Regions from separate parts of the Homo sapiens genome. Here regions 1, 2 and 3 are each linked to region 4. Evidence: promoter capture Hi-C in 16 types of primary human blood cells and fetal thymus (Javierre and others, 2016). All regions are on one chromosome and are shown on one strand. The core of a region is centred on a gene start or on the middle of the fragment in contact, and the rest is flanking DNA. Distances in the headings are between cores, read along the strand shown. Region 1 holds the start of ALAS1 (5'-aminolevulinate synthase 1). Region 2 overlaps CHDH (choline dehydrogenase). Region 3 overlaps CACNA1D (calcium voltage-gated channel subunit alpha1 D). Region 4 holds the start of RFT1 (RFT1 glycolipid translocator homolog).

Region 1 (3,407 bases), core at 261-2,760, 930 kb before region 4:
CAGTGAGCCGAGATTGTGCCACTGCACTCCGGCCTGGGCAACAGAGGGAGACTCTGTCTCAAACAAACAAACAAAATAACAACAACAACAAAAACAACCTGTGAGGCAGGCATTTCAGGGATTATGATCCTATTGCCCAGATAAGGAAAGCAAGGCCCAAAGATGAGCAAAGCACTCAATATCATCCTTATTCTGTTCCCACTTCCAGCTGCACTTGGGTCCAAGTCCAAGTGCTGACCTTTTCTCTCTCATCTTCTCTGGGTGATGGGCACTGCCCAGGATCTCTTGGCTGAATGGCACAGAACTGGGTCTCGAGCTCTCAGACCAAAGCCCTCATCCTGGACTGGTCCCACTGCCACTCTGAACCCAGGTGCCTCCTCTGAAGGTGGAGACTCACCTCACCTGCCTTGCAGCCAGCTGGGTGCTCAGAGACAGAAATGCAAAGTACCTGGACACACCCTGGTCACCATCATTCTGGACTTTGTCCCTCTTGTTAATGCTCAGCTGGGAAAGGAATACCCTCAAAGGCCCTTTCCTCAAGAATGGAGGAGAGTACCTCTGAGCCTGGCACAGGCCCAGCCCAACACAGCCCAAGCCAAGCTGGGAAGGGTGTGGGGCAAGGAAGCCAGACTGACATTCCTGAGACGGGTTTGCCAAGCCCTACACTTTATGTGTTGTACCCGGGAAACTCAATGGAGGTATGGCCCAACGCTGACCTTTGGCATGGAGGCCTAAGCCACCCTGCTGGTGCCCAGGGTGGCCAGCAAGGGGCTTCAGACAACCCTGGATGGAAAATAAAAATAGTGGCTAATATTTGTTACACGCTAACTATTGTCAGGCCCTGTGCCTTCCCCTCCTCCCCAAGTGCTCAGAGCTGTGGAGTGGATGGGTTCCACCCTAGCCCTGTTCCTCTGTCCCCTCTGGATCATCTTAGACCAGAAAGTGCCACAGCTGAGTGTCCCGCTTCTTCCGCATCCTGCCAGGACCACTCCATTTGTGGGCGATATAGCCAGCTCCACCTCCTCCGGGAAGCCCTTGTTCACAGTTTCCAAAGCAAGCCGCAGGCGGGATGGATCCTGCTTAACACCCCGGCCCAGAACCCCTTGGATCTCCTTCTTCCTCCATGTCCAAGACACCCAGCTTAACAACCCTGTAGCCCCCAACTTGGCCCTAGCGGCACCTCGCCTCGACCTTGCCATTTTATACTCAATTGGGGCGTAGGGTTCTGAAGCCCAGGGTAGTTGGTGGGGAGGCAGCACGAGGGTGCAGGATGAGGTCGGGAAAAGAGACCTCGTCCGCCCACCGCCTAGCGCTTCCTCCTCCCTGCAGGCGAGCCGGGGAATCCCCGGCAGCACCGATATCCGCAGAGCCCAAGAAGTGGGCCTCTCTGCCCCGCCCCCCCGGCTCGCCGAGGGCTACGCGGCGCGCCTGCGCAGAAGAAGGCAGCGCCCAAGGCGCATGCGCAGCGGTCACTCCCGCTGTATATTAAGGCGCCGGCGATCGCGGCCTGAGGCTGCTCCCGGACAAGGGCAACGAGCGTTTCGTTTGGACTTCTCGACTTGAGTGCCCGCCTCCTTCGCCGCCGCCTCTGCAGTCCTCAGCGCAGGTGAGGGCCCGCGCGGTAGGTGCGGCGCCGGCCGAGGAAGCCCCGGGGTGTCCTGCCAGCCGTGGCACCGCTGCCCCGGGTGCTGGGACCCCATCCCCCACTGTCCCAGTCACCCGCCGCCTTGAGGTCAGCGTTTATCCTCCAGATCTTTTGCCTAGACGGCCGCCTCAGTTTCCCCCTTTCGGCCCCTTCCGGCTATTCCCGGTTGAACCCGCCGCTTTAGAATTCCCTTCTCATACCCCTCCCGTCATTCTCGAGACCTCGACCGCGGGTCACCTCTGACCCCCACTGCCGGAGGACTGCCTTCTTTCTCCAGACTCAACTCCCTCGACTTTATAAGCCCCTGCGCGTCCCCAGTGAGGCCCAAGGCGCTGGCCCTCATACCCCTACCCTCATTTGTGCCCCTCCTTTCTCAGTTATGCCCAGTTCTTCCCGCTGTGGGGACACGACCACGGAGGAATCCTTGCTTCAGGGACTCGGGACCCTGCTGGACCCCTTCCTCGGGTTTAGGGGATGTGGGGACCAGGAGAAAGTCAGGATCCCTAAGAGTCTTCCCTGCCTGGATGGATGAGTGGCTTCTTCTCCACCTAGATGTAAGCCAAGATGTCTTATCTGCACTGTGCATCTCCCTAAGAAACCTCTGGCCTCCCAAACCTGTTCTTGACCTTTCCCTCATCCTTCCGCCCCCTTGATTATGTACTGTCAGTATTCATTTGGTGAAGTTGCTTTGCAGGTGCCTTTGTGTAGCGCTGGAGAATGAAGAAGTTGGTGACCCGGGTAAAGTGTGGTCACCATTCCTTAGCTCACATCAGTGCTGTCCTTAGGCATTTTTGAGGGAGAAGTGTTAGTATTCCAGGGTACCCTTTATATAAACTGCGGTTGACACCTGAATCCAGTGAGCTTGCAGTGATATTTGCCTGATTATTAACAACTGTTGATGTCACTCTTCATCAGTCTTTCCACAGGAGCCAGCATACTTCCTGAACATGGAGAGTGTTGTTCGCCGCTGCCCATTCTTATCCCGAGTCCCCCAGGCCTTTCTGCAGAAAGCAGGCAAATCTCTGTTGTTCTATGCCCAAAACTGCCCCAAGATGATGGAAGTTGGGGCCAAGCCAGCCCCTCGGGCATTGTCCACTGCAGCAGTACACTACCAACAGATCAAAGAAACCCCTCCGGCCAGTGAGAGTAAGTGTCATTGACAATGAAGGAGCAGGTATGGGTGTTTGTGCTCATTGGTAGACTAGAAGCAGTCCCCACAGTGGTGGTGAGGGTCACACTCACTCACAGAGGGCTGCTATGTGCAGGCTGGGCTCTGAGCACAGATTATCTCATATGATTGTCCCCCCAAGGGTAGGCACTTTTAGCTTTTCCATCTTTAAAGGTGAAACAGTGGCCAGTGTTGCACATTACAGGTTTTTGGATTGCACGTTAGTGTCTATAGGGGTTTTAGTGTTTCCTCAGTGCCTCGTTCACATAAATATTAAATTGGAATGTTCTAATTTCCCTCATTAAACATTTAGCCTTCTAATTTCCCTCATTAAACATTTGGCCTTCGGCTTTTTATTTATTTAATTTTTCTTTTTTGAGACTGAGTCTTGCTCTGTCGCCCAGGTTGGAGTGCAGTGATGCAGTCTCGGCTTACTGCAACCTCCACCTCCCAGGTTCAAGTGATTCTCCTGCCTCAGCCTTCCAAGTATCTGGAATTACAGGCATGCACCACCACGCCCAGATAATTTTTGTACTTTTAGTAGGGTTTCACCTTGTTGGTCCGGCTGGTCTCAAACTCCTGACCTCAAATGAT
Region 2 (3,473 bases), core at 937-3,436, 700 kb after region 4:
TTATAAAGGACTACTATGTAAATACACAAATAAATATATTCTTAAAACTCAATAACAGATAACCCGATTAAAGAATGGCCCAAAGACCTTAACAGACACCTCACTAAAGAAGACAGACAGATGGCAAAGATGCATATGAGAAGATCGTCCACATCATATGTCATCAGGAAAATGCAAATTAAAACAAGAGTGAGACACTACTATACACATATTAGAATGGCCAAAATCCAGACACTGACAACATCACATGCTGACAAGGATGTGAGGCAACAGGAACTTTCATTCATAGCTGGTGGGAGTGCTAAATGGTACAGCCACTTTGGAAGACAGTTTGGTGATTTCTTGTAAAAATCAACACACTCTTACCACATGATCCAGCAATTGTGCTCCTTGGTATTTACCCAAAGGAACTGAAAACTATGTCCAAACAAAAACCAGGAAATAAATATTTATGGCAGTTTTATTCATAACTGCCCAAAGCTGGAAGGAACCAAGATATCCTTCAGTAGGTGAATGGATAAATAAACTGTGGTACATCCTGACAATGGAATATCATTTAGTGCTAAAAAGAAATGAGCCAGAAAGCCATGAAAAAACAAGGAGGAAACTTAAATGCATAATTACTAAACGAAAGAAGCCAATCAGAAAAGGCTACAAACCGTATGAGTTCAACGATATTACATCCTGAAAAAGGCAAAACTATGGAGACAGTAAAACGATCAGTGGTTACCAGGAGTTGGGAGAGGGATAAACAGGCAGGCCACAAAGGATTTTTAGGGCGGGGAACTAATCTGTTTTCTGTACAGTGGTGGATACAGGTCATTTTTGTCCAAACCTATAGAATGTGCAATACCAAGAGTGAACCCTAATGTAAACTATGGGCTTTAGGTGATAATGATGTGCTAATATAGGTTTATTATTTGTAATAAATGTACCACTTTAGTGCGAGGATGTTGTTAATGGGAGGATTATGCACGTGTAGGGGCAAAGGTTATATGGGAAATCTCTTCACCCTCCTCTCGATTTTGCTGTGAGCCTGAAACTGCCTTTTTAAACAGTATTTTAAAACTATAATAGAGCCTGACTCCATTTTTGATGTTTGACTACCGATAGCTTTCAAGCTCCATCCCTCCCTCTTCCCCTCTTGCCCCACACCTGGGCAAGTGAATAAAAAAGCTCTGGCATTCCTGCCTGGAGTATCAACAGGGAGGTTCAAGTCATGCAAATCCAATTCACGTGTGGGATTCTCACCTTGACTCCACTCCCTAACTATAATAATAACCAGGAACACTCACCTCTTCCTTCACAGACAAGCCTGGGTGCTTGCCCTCCTCACCCTATAAAGCTCCATTATGTGAGCAATAAACCTTATGGTAGCCACTTGGTGTGTGTGTGATGTCATTAGTCTCAACATTCAAACCAACTTTGGGTGGTGGGGGGTTGATCCCACCCTCCATGGGCAACCACAAGACAAAACAATAACACTTACAAGAGCACCAGGAAACATGACATACTTAGTAATAAACTTAAAATATATACAGGACCTATATACTGAAAACTACAAAACATTGACAGAAGTTAAAGATGACCTAAATAAATACTACGAATAGGAAGACCCAATATTTTTATGATGTCAGTTTTCCCCAAATTGATTTATAGATTCGATGCAATGCCAATCCCAGCAGGCATTTTTTTTTTTGGTGGAAATTGAAATGCTGATTTCAAAATGTATGTGGAAATATAAAGGACATAGAAAAAGGTATAGTTCAGTTGGTCAAAGAAACCCCAGACAGCAGTGAAAATGAAGGACACATAGCACCTCACATCAACATGGATGAATCCTAAAAATATATTCAGCACACAAAAAGAATATTATAAGAGGCTGTGGCCTAAATGAGATTATATATATATATATATATCTTCACATATATTTGTATATATGTGAAGTTTTAAAACATGCAATTCATATATGCACCAAATATCAGGGCCCCAAAATGAAGCAAACAATGACAGATTTGAAGGGAGAAATAAACAGTCCTACAACAATAACTGGAGACTTCAATACTCAGATTTCAATAATGGACAGAAGCTAGACAGAAGATCAGTAAGGAAACAGAGGATTTGAATAACACTATAAACCAGTTGGAGACCTAACAGATATATACAAAACATTCACTACAACAAGAGAATATACATTTTTTCCAAGTGCACATGGAACATTCTCCAGGAGAGACCATATGTTAGGCAACAAAACAAATCTTAATACATCTTAAAAGACTGAAATCAGGGAGGAGAAGAGCAAGATGGCAAATCTCTATTTGCTCCATCAATCATCCCCCTCGCCCCCCACCCCCACAGGAACACCAAGTTTGACAACTATCTGCACAAAGGGAGCAATTTCATAGCAACCAAAAATCAGGCACCAGCTTGGCCACAGTGGAGGAGAGCACCAAGAGGGCTCTTGGGTTCCCTGATTCCAGGCCTTGGCTCTTAAGTGGCCTTTCCGGACCAACCCTGGGCCAGAGGGGAGCCCACTGCCCTGAAGGGTGAGTCTCAGGCCTGGCAGCATTCACCACAAGCTGACTGAAGAGCCCTTGGGCCTTAAGTGAATGCTGGTGGTATCCTGGCAGTCCTCCCTGTGGGCCTGTGGTGGTCGCCATGGTGTGAGGCTCCTCTGCCTGTGAAAAGGGAAAAGTGGGAAGGACTGTGTCACATGGTGTGAGTGCCAGCTCAGCTACAGTAGAATAGAACACGAGGTAGCTTTCTAATGTTTTTGACTCCAGTACCTGGCTCCCGGAAAGCATCTCTATCTGCCCGGGGCCTGGGGAAACTTGCCGCCCCAAAGGGAAGGCCACAAGCCTGGCTGGCTTCACCGCTGGCTAACTGTAGAGCCCTGGGGCCTTGTGTGAATACAGGCGGTAGCCACATAGTGGTTACAGCAGGCCTTGGGCAAGACCCAGTCCTGTGCTGACTTCAGGTCTGACCCAGCACAGTCCCAGTGTTGGTGGCCACAGGGGTGCTTGTGTCACCCTACCTGTAGGAAAGTTATATTTCATCAAAATCAAACACTTTACTGCATCAAAGGACATTCTCAAGAATGAAATGACAATCCATAGGAGAAAATATTTGCAAACCATATATCTGATAAGAGGTTAATATCTAGAATGTGTTTAAAACTATAACTCAACAACAAACAACTCAAATAGAAAATGGCCAAAGGACTTGAATAGACATTTCTCTAAGAAAGAAACACAAATGGCCAATAAACACATGAAAAGATGCTCAACATCACTAATCATTATGAAACTATAAATCAAAATCACAGTGAATTGCCACTTCACACCCATCCTGATGGCTATCACACCCATCAGGATGGCTATAATAAAGGCTGCAGTGAGCCGAGATGGCACCACTGCACTCCAGCCTGGCAACAGAGCCAGACTCCATCTCAAAAAAAAAAAAAAAGAAAGAAA
Region 3 (3,483 bases), core at 644-3,143, 580 kb after region 4:
CAGCAGCAAGAGGCTGTTACTCTGTGGTGGCCTAATGTGTCTCTACTAGCATGTGCATGTGCCTTTAGGGGGTGTGTGGGCTTCTTCTGGATTTGGCAGGCCTGTACGTCATGGTACTGCTCATGTTTGTCATGAAAATAAGATGAAAACATGAGGTCTAGGTGTCAGGTACCCTGTCCCCTAGGAAGGCAGCCACAACTCAGCCACTGCTCAGTTGTCCAGCCTCACCCCCTACCCTTACCTTTGAAAAGAATGAGAAGCTTTAGGCTGCTTGGAGGTGGAAGGAAATGCTAAAATAAATTCCTGAGTGTGCAAAAAAGTCTGTCCTGTGGAGAACAGAGGAGTGAGGCTCTGAGGCCAAAGACATCTGTGAATGAGGCTACTAATGGGACAGGTTCTAGACGAGGCTGGAGGGCTCTGGGCTCAGTTTGATGTGTGGCAAGCCTTCCCTTCGGGGTGCCTTGACTGGAGGACTGAGGCTCTCCTGTGACGCCCTGAGGCCTCTGGGGAGCTACTGCTTCCTGTGCTGCACCCCATTCTCTGGGACATTCTACATGCAGAGCACTTGGACTCAGTTCTCCAGTGCAGGCTGCTGGCTGGACCCCTGGCTTCCCTCCTGAGGGTGGTGGGCAGGGGCTCACTTCTTGTGCCCTCCCCTCCTTGCAGAGCTGGGGGAATGCAAGGGAAACCCCCTGGTTGTTGGTAGTAAAACCAGCCAGCATGTGGGCGTTTCTGCCTTCCTGCAGTTATAGCAGGTCAGAGGTAAATGGATCTTAGAGATGATACTGTCCTACAACTCATCTTACAGATCTGGTAGCCAAGCATAGGGGAAAAGAGGCACTTGTCCCATTGTCACCTGATGATAAGCACCAGGCTTTCCTGACATTTCTTCCATCATTTTTGACCTCATCAGCCTCCATCACTGAAGGTTGATCTGAGATTTTGCTATACCTGTTAATGGTGAACATAATTTTGAGGCTGCCTGCTTAGGACCCACACATAGACTCATTTGCTCTGTGTGTATGTGTGTGTGTGTGTGTGTGTGTGTGTGTGTGTGTGTGTGTGAGAGATTTGCCTCCAAATTCACAAGCCTGACACATTTGGCTGAGACGAATGTCGTCCTTCAGCATGAGAGTAGATGGATAAATGTCTACACCTTGGTGAAAATGCTAGTTGTGCTTACCTGAGAAGCAGCAGATTTCCCTGGTTTACTGTGTGTGGCATTGCCCATGATAACATCTGGCCCAGTGCAAGATCTTAAAGAGAAGCACCATGACCCACATCCACAGAGTGCTCCAAGTAGGGGCCTGGCCCGGCTGCCCATGCTGCAAAGGCCTTGGAAACTCTAATTACAGTCTGGGACATGCAGGGCTGCTGTCTGCCACCATCCTCTCACCCCCAGTGGCACCCAGGCCCCCCGCCACCAATCTCAGTGCACCACACTGTAAGCCTAAGGGTCTGCCCTGGAGCTCTTCCCAGAGATCCCAATGCCTGGAATAGATTGCAAAATATAGGCCTTGAGCTTCTCCAGATTTTCAGCAGGCAAATTGCAGTGCCAGCATCCTCTCACAGGTCACAGGCTTTCCTAATGCTTGGTTTTTCCCAGACTCACTGAAAGTAGTTTTTAAATTTATATAAAAAATAAACTTCTCTAACAAAGCTCTAACATTCCAGTTTCCTGAAATGTGTCAGGGAAGAGGCTTCACAGCTTGTTCATGTGCAGATGGCCCCTGGTGCTTATTTCTACAGTAGGGGACTGGCACTTGTCGGCAATGTGGGGAGGTCTGAGGGGTCTGCCTGCACCTCTAATAAGGCCTAGCCACTTGTCAGCAATTAACACTGAATCCCTGCTGAAGGGGACAAGGCCATCACCTAAATGGGGCAGTCACAATGCTATGGAAGCCAGTTAGGAGAAGCCCATGTATTCGGGTAATTTGCCCATGGCTTTACCTTCATGAGTTTGTATGACTCTTTCTGTCTGGATTTTTATAAAAGCCCAGTCGTCACCATTGCAGCCTGATTTTTGTGCTGTCGTCGGTCACTGAGCTGATATCCTGTAAGTGATCTGGTTATATGCCAGATTTTGAGTGGTTAATAAAGGTCATCAGAATAGTAAACCAGCACTGGTAGATAATAGACTCGTTTGGCTTTTTGGAACTTGTTGATTTGTGGAATTTTAAGTACATAACACCAAAATGTATACCAGTGAAACCACAGTACATACTTGAAAAGAATGGTGAGTGGAAGTTAGGAGAGATTTCTCAGTGTCAGCTGTGTGTCCCAAGGCATTTTGGCGAGTTCTGTCCTCTGAGAAATCAAGAGTTTGCTCACGTATTCTCAGAAGCCCCTTCTGGTTCTAACAGTCTATGATTCTTTTCTTTATTTTTTAAAAACATAGATGAGATCCTATTGGGGCTAAAGGAAGGGAAAGTCATATTAATTTTTTAACATTAAAAAAATGAATGCCTAATGCAAGTGAAGGGTAAAATGCTTTATTTTTAATAAATGAGGTCTTTGTTATACCCACTGAGCCTGATCTTTTCAAATATTTTTGGAAAAGGATAAGTGTGATATTTCTTCTGGAAATATTTTGGAAAAGGATCCTGTGATAGGGAGTAAGTGGCTGGAGAAGGTAGGCTGCCAGGGCCCTGGTCAGAGTGCGTTTCCTCTGCCCAGATTTAGGGGCTGGATCAAGGGCTGTTTCCAGGACCAAATGAGGTCTCCAATTTCTAGCGTAGGCACTGTCCTCTTTCTTTCCGTCTGCCTCTGCTCATCCTCAGCCCTGGCAACATCTTTTTGGGATATATTTATTTATTATGTGCCTGTGGCTCTTTAGGTGTCAAACAACTATGACAGGAGAAGTTGCTATGCCTACAGTAGGCAAAGTTAGACAATAACTCAGCTAAAGACAGAGAAAATACAAACCAAGAATGATGGCCAAAGCTGATTCAGAGGTATGGAAGATGGCTCACACTAGATGCGTCTGTGCAATGATGAAAGTGGCCAGGGCAAAATGACACTGGATTGGTCGCTTTGCTTCCAGGGAGCTCCAGGAGAGCTTTTCTGAGATGATGGAGTTAACATGTGTGGGCCTCACTGATCATCCAGCCCTGGGGACCCAGCACTCCGCATGCCTCATCTCATTCTTACCCTTTTACAGGTGAGGCAATGGAGATGTACAGAAGTCAGGTCACAAACGCGGGGTTAAACTTAGATCTGGCCAACCTGTGCACCTGCTCTCAGCCACTATCCCAACCCAGCTGAAGGACAGAATCAGCTCAGAGAGCAGGAGGACCCTGCCTCACCCTCAGTGGAGCCCTGGCACAGTGCTGTGAGACTATCTTCCCCTCTTTGTTGCTGTTTGGGGAGTTCGATTTTACTTCTTGTCTTTCCCCACAGTTAGTCTAGGGAGCAACTAGAACATTTCATACACTAATAGTTGGCAGGGGGCCAGAAATGCTAACTGATGACCCCATTCCCATA
Region 4 (3,298 bases), core at 224-2,723:
GTAAGCCACCTGACTCGTAGTCCAGTGTGTTTTCCGTTATAACTTGTTTTCGTTTTATGAAGCCTATCTGAGTAGTAAGATATTATCAAAGGCTGAAAAAAAACCAACATTGTGGATAAAACAATAAACTCAGTTATTTATGTAGTGAAACAGAAAAAAAAAATCCCTAGGTAAACTTAGAATGGCTAACATTTACTAAGCACATATCACGTGCAAGGCACTCTTCAACATGCTTTCCATAGGTTATCTCATTTCATTCCTACATTGACTATTTTAAAAATACTTATTACCCTAATAAAAATAGCTACATTTATTAAGTACTTGTAGTGTGCCAGGCACTTAAGAGGCATGATTTCATCTAATCTTCCTAATGACCCTGTGAGGTTGCACTATGATTCTCATTTAAGATGAAGAAACTGATACAGAAGTCATCGGATTTATCCCGAAGGCAGGCATCTAGCAAGTGACAAGGCCCAAACTCAAGCCCCATTCTGCTTGGTTCTTTCTTCTGCCCTCCATGTGCCTCTCTAAGATAAGGGGTAGGGTAGATTCGGGACTTGTGTGAAGTAGGGTTGATTGGCTCAAGAGTGAGACAGAGAGATACTGAGCCACTTGACTTAAGAGGTTCAGCTCCTGGGGTTGAAAGAATCTTCAGATACCATTTGGACTAACTGGCCTGTATCATACCTGACAGATGACAAAAATTAGGGCCAAGAAGGGAAGTGACTTGTCCAAGATCACATAAACAGAAGATGCAGCCAACATGTATTAAATGCATACTAAGAGCCGGGTACTGTGTTAAGTACGTTTATTTGAATGATCCCAATCAATCCCTGCTTATGAGCTAAGTACGACATATTATTACCCCCATTTTACTAGTGAGGAACTCAGGCTCTGCAGGTGAAGTCACTTGTCCTGGGTCACGGAGCAATCCAAGCCTAACTCCAGATTTCTCTTCTTAGCTATGCCATATGGACTCTCGGAACTCAGTGGGACTCAAAGTTTGAGGAAGGTGTTTGATGAAGGAAATGAACCCCTTGCCTGAAAAATATCAGATTCTCGAGCACGAAATACCAGTCCCTCACCCCCGCCACCTGATCTAATTCACTCCTACTGCCATATGGGAAATAGAATGCTCAGAAGGAAAGCGGCTTGTCTGCAGTCACCCGGCCTAGACTCTAAAGGCAGGCTCCTATCTCCGGGCCAGGGTCCCCCCTCATCAATGCCACCGTCTCCGGTCGACCCCCCCACCCCCTCCATTGCGGGGTCCACCTCGGGACTGGGTCGGCCCTGGGGCAGGCTCTCAAGGGCCCAAGGGCTGCCATCCCGCGAATCCCGGCTGCAGTACAAGCTGGAACCTGAAGGGCAGAGAGTACCTGCAGGAGGAGACCGGAGGAGGCCAGCCGGGCCGCGTGGCCCAGCACCTCCTGGCTGCCCATAGCCTCCGCGCCAGGCTCAGACACCAGGAAATGCCGCCGCCACTCCGTTTAGTCGCGATAAGATGGCGTCACGGCGCGCCTCGCTGTCTGATTGATGGCCTTGAGAGAGGGGGGCGGGGCACGAGAAGTTCTGGTCCTTTAAGTGGGCCTGTCTCGGGCCGTCTGTTATGGCGCCTGGCTCTTTCTATTTCGGTAGGTTTTGCGCTGTCTGTCGCTTGTGCGCTGTCTGTCCCTCTCTTCCCCGTATAAACGAAATAGTGTGGCGAGTACTAAGAGATACCGTTAAAGAATCCAAAGTTCCTTCTCTGAGGCTTTCAGCCACCAACCAAGAAGCACTAACTTTCCTGGCCTCATCTGCCAAAAGGGGAACAAACTTCTCACTGGCCCGTTAAGAAGATTCTCACCATTGACCTTTGCTTACAGAATCACAGCCACAGACCCTCTGAATTAGGCTGGACAGGAATTGTCCTCATTTAACAGAGAAAGAACTGAGGACCAGAAGTTAGATATAGCACTGTTATGTGTATGGTTTTGTGAAATCCTTCCGAAAGCTCTGAGAATTGGCCCCTGTGGTTAGAGATGAGTAAAGCCTTGGAGATGGGAAGTGACTTGTTCGAATCTACACAACTTGTTTCCTGACTAAGTGGATACCAGGCTCCTGATCCTAAACTTATCACTCTTGCCTGTATGCTAGAAATTGTGAGGGCAGAGTGGAAGAAGGACTGGAAGTGCTTTGTAAAAAAATGTAAAGCGCCCAACATACACAATCAGCTGCTGTTCTGTCAGTGTTCTTATTATCTACCAAGCAGGCTGTAGGAAGCCCAGTCTTTCCCCAATCTCTTTCAGTCCTCACATGATTTGGCCCCAACCTATCTTCTACTACCTTTCACACGATCATTGCCCTTCCCAACACTATCTAGGCCATAGCCATTCCGAGTCCTTACTGGTCCTCAAACAGGCGGTGACTCACTGGCCTTTGCTCCTCCACCCTCTTTGTCCAAAGTGTCTTCCCTGACAGCACCCCTTGCCCTCCTAGACCACACTGTCCTGACTTTCCTGGCCAACCACAGCTGGTACCTGCTGTGGACTAAATGTTTGTGTACCCTCAAAATTCATATGTTGAAGCCTAATCCCCAGTGTGATAGTATTAGGAGGTAAGGCCTTTGGGAAGTAATTAGGTCCTGAAAGTGGAGCCGTCATAATGGGATTCATGTCCTTATAAAAAGAGATGTCAGAAAAATGATCTCTGTGTTTACTATTTGAGGATACAGCAAGAATGTAGCTGTCTGCAACCACGAAGAAGGCTTTGTAAAATGTAAGGCGCCCAACATACACTTAACAGGAACCAAACTGGCTAGCACCTTGATCTTGGGCTTCCAGCCTCCAGAGCTGTGAGAGAAATTTCTGTTTTTGACTTACCCAGTCTATGGTATTTTGTTACAGCAGCCCAAGCAAATCAAGACAGTACCCCTAAAATACTCTGTACCCCTTTATAGTTCCTAATGCAATCTGCATTATAGCAGAAAGACTAGAATATGTGTCTCTATATAATCAGCCCATGAGCTCCAAGAGGGCAGAAGTGCAGCCTGCCTGGTTTTGCTTCCTGAAGTAGCGGTACAGAACATTCTTAGGGCTCCTATAAATGTCTCCTGACACATGACTGCTGCTACTGCTGCTGGAAACAGACTGTGGAACTCAAAGCCTATCACTCCCATCTTCCCAGGTGAAATGAGCTCTGTCTTAGTGTGGAGGCCCAGAATGTGAGCTTTTCTTTTTCTTTTCTTTTCTTTTCTTTTCTTTTCTTTTTTTTTTTTGAGACAGGGTCTCGCTCTGTCTCCCAGGCTAGGGTGCAGTGGTAC

The links. The method cuts DNA at HindIII sites, captures the fragments that hold promoters and counts their contacts. A CHiCAGO score of 5 or more calls a contact.
Region 1: a contact is called between the fragment with the promoter of ALAS1 here and the fragment with the promoter of RFT1 in region 4, in 2 of 17 cell types (neutrophils and monocytes). The highest score is 11.4, in neutrophils.
Region 2: a fragment that was not itself captured here is called in contact with the fragment with the promoter of RFT1 in region 4 in 1 of 17 cell types (M2 macrophages); the score reaches 5.1 in M2 macrophages.
Region 3: a fragment that was not itself captured here is called in contact with the fragment with the promoter of RFT1 in region 4 in 2 of 17 cell types (naive B cells and activated CD4 T cells); the score reaches 5.4 in naive B cells.

Annotation. Positions count from the first base shown.
Region 1 is chr3:52,196,650-52,200,056 of GRCh38, forward strand. ALAS1 (5'-aminolevulinate synthase 1) reads left to right here and starts at 1,511. Exons shown (of 12, transcript NM_000688.6): 1 at 1,511-1,606; 2 at 2,023-2,199; 3 at 2,561-2,791. The coding sequence starts at 2,593. RefSeq lists enhancers at 1,053-1,122, 1,133-1,352 and silencers at 1,493-1,562, 1,673-1,752. The HindIII fragment of the contact is 12,746 bases long and covers 1-3,407 here.
Region 2 is chr3:53,828,503-53,831,975 of GRCh38, forward strand. All of the region lies in intron 2 of CHDH (choline dehydrogenase), which reads right to left. Among named protein-coding and RNA genes, the nearest start is that of CHDH, 16 kb to the right of the region's middle. The HindIII fragment of the contact is 8,035 bases long and covers 1-3,473 here.
Region 3 is chr3:53,712,480-53,715,962 of GRCh38, forward strand. All of the region lies in intron 9 of CACNA1D (calcium voltage-gated channel subunit alpha1 D), which reads left to right. Among named protein-coding and RNA genes, the nearest start is that of CHDH, 130 kb to the right of the region's middle. The HindIII fragment of the contact is 3,271 bases long and covers 259-3,483 here.
Region 4 is chr3:53,128,962-53,132,259 of GRCh38, forward strand. RFT1 (RFT1 glycolipid translocator homolog) reads right to left here and starts at 1,474. Exons shown (of 13, transcript NM_052859.4): 1 at 1,377-1,474. The coding sequence starts at 1,439. RefSeq lists enhancers at 1,330-1,519, 1,530-1,579, 1,620-1,819, 1,830-1,879. The HindIII fragment of the contact is 8,425 bases long and covers 1-3,298 here.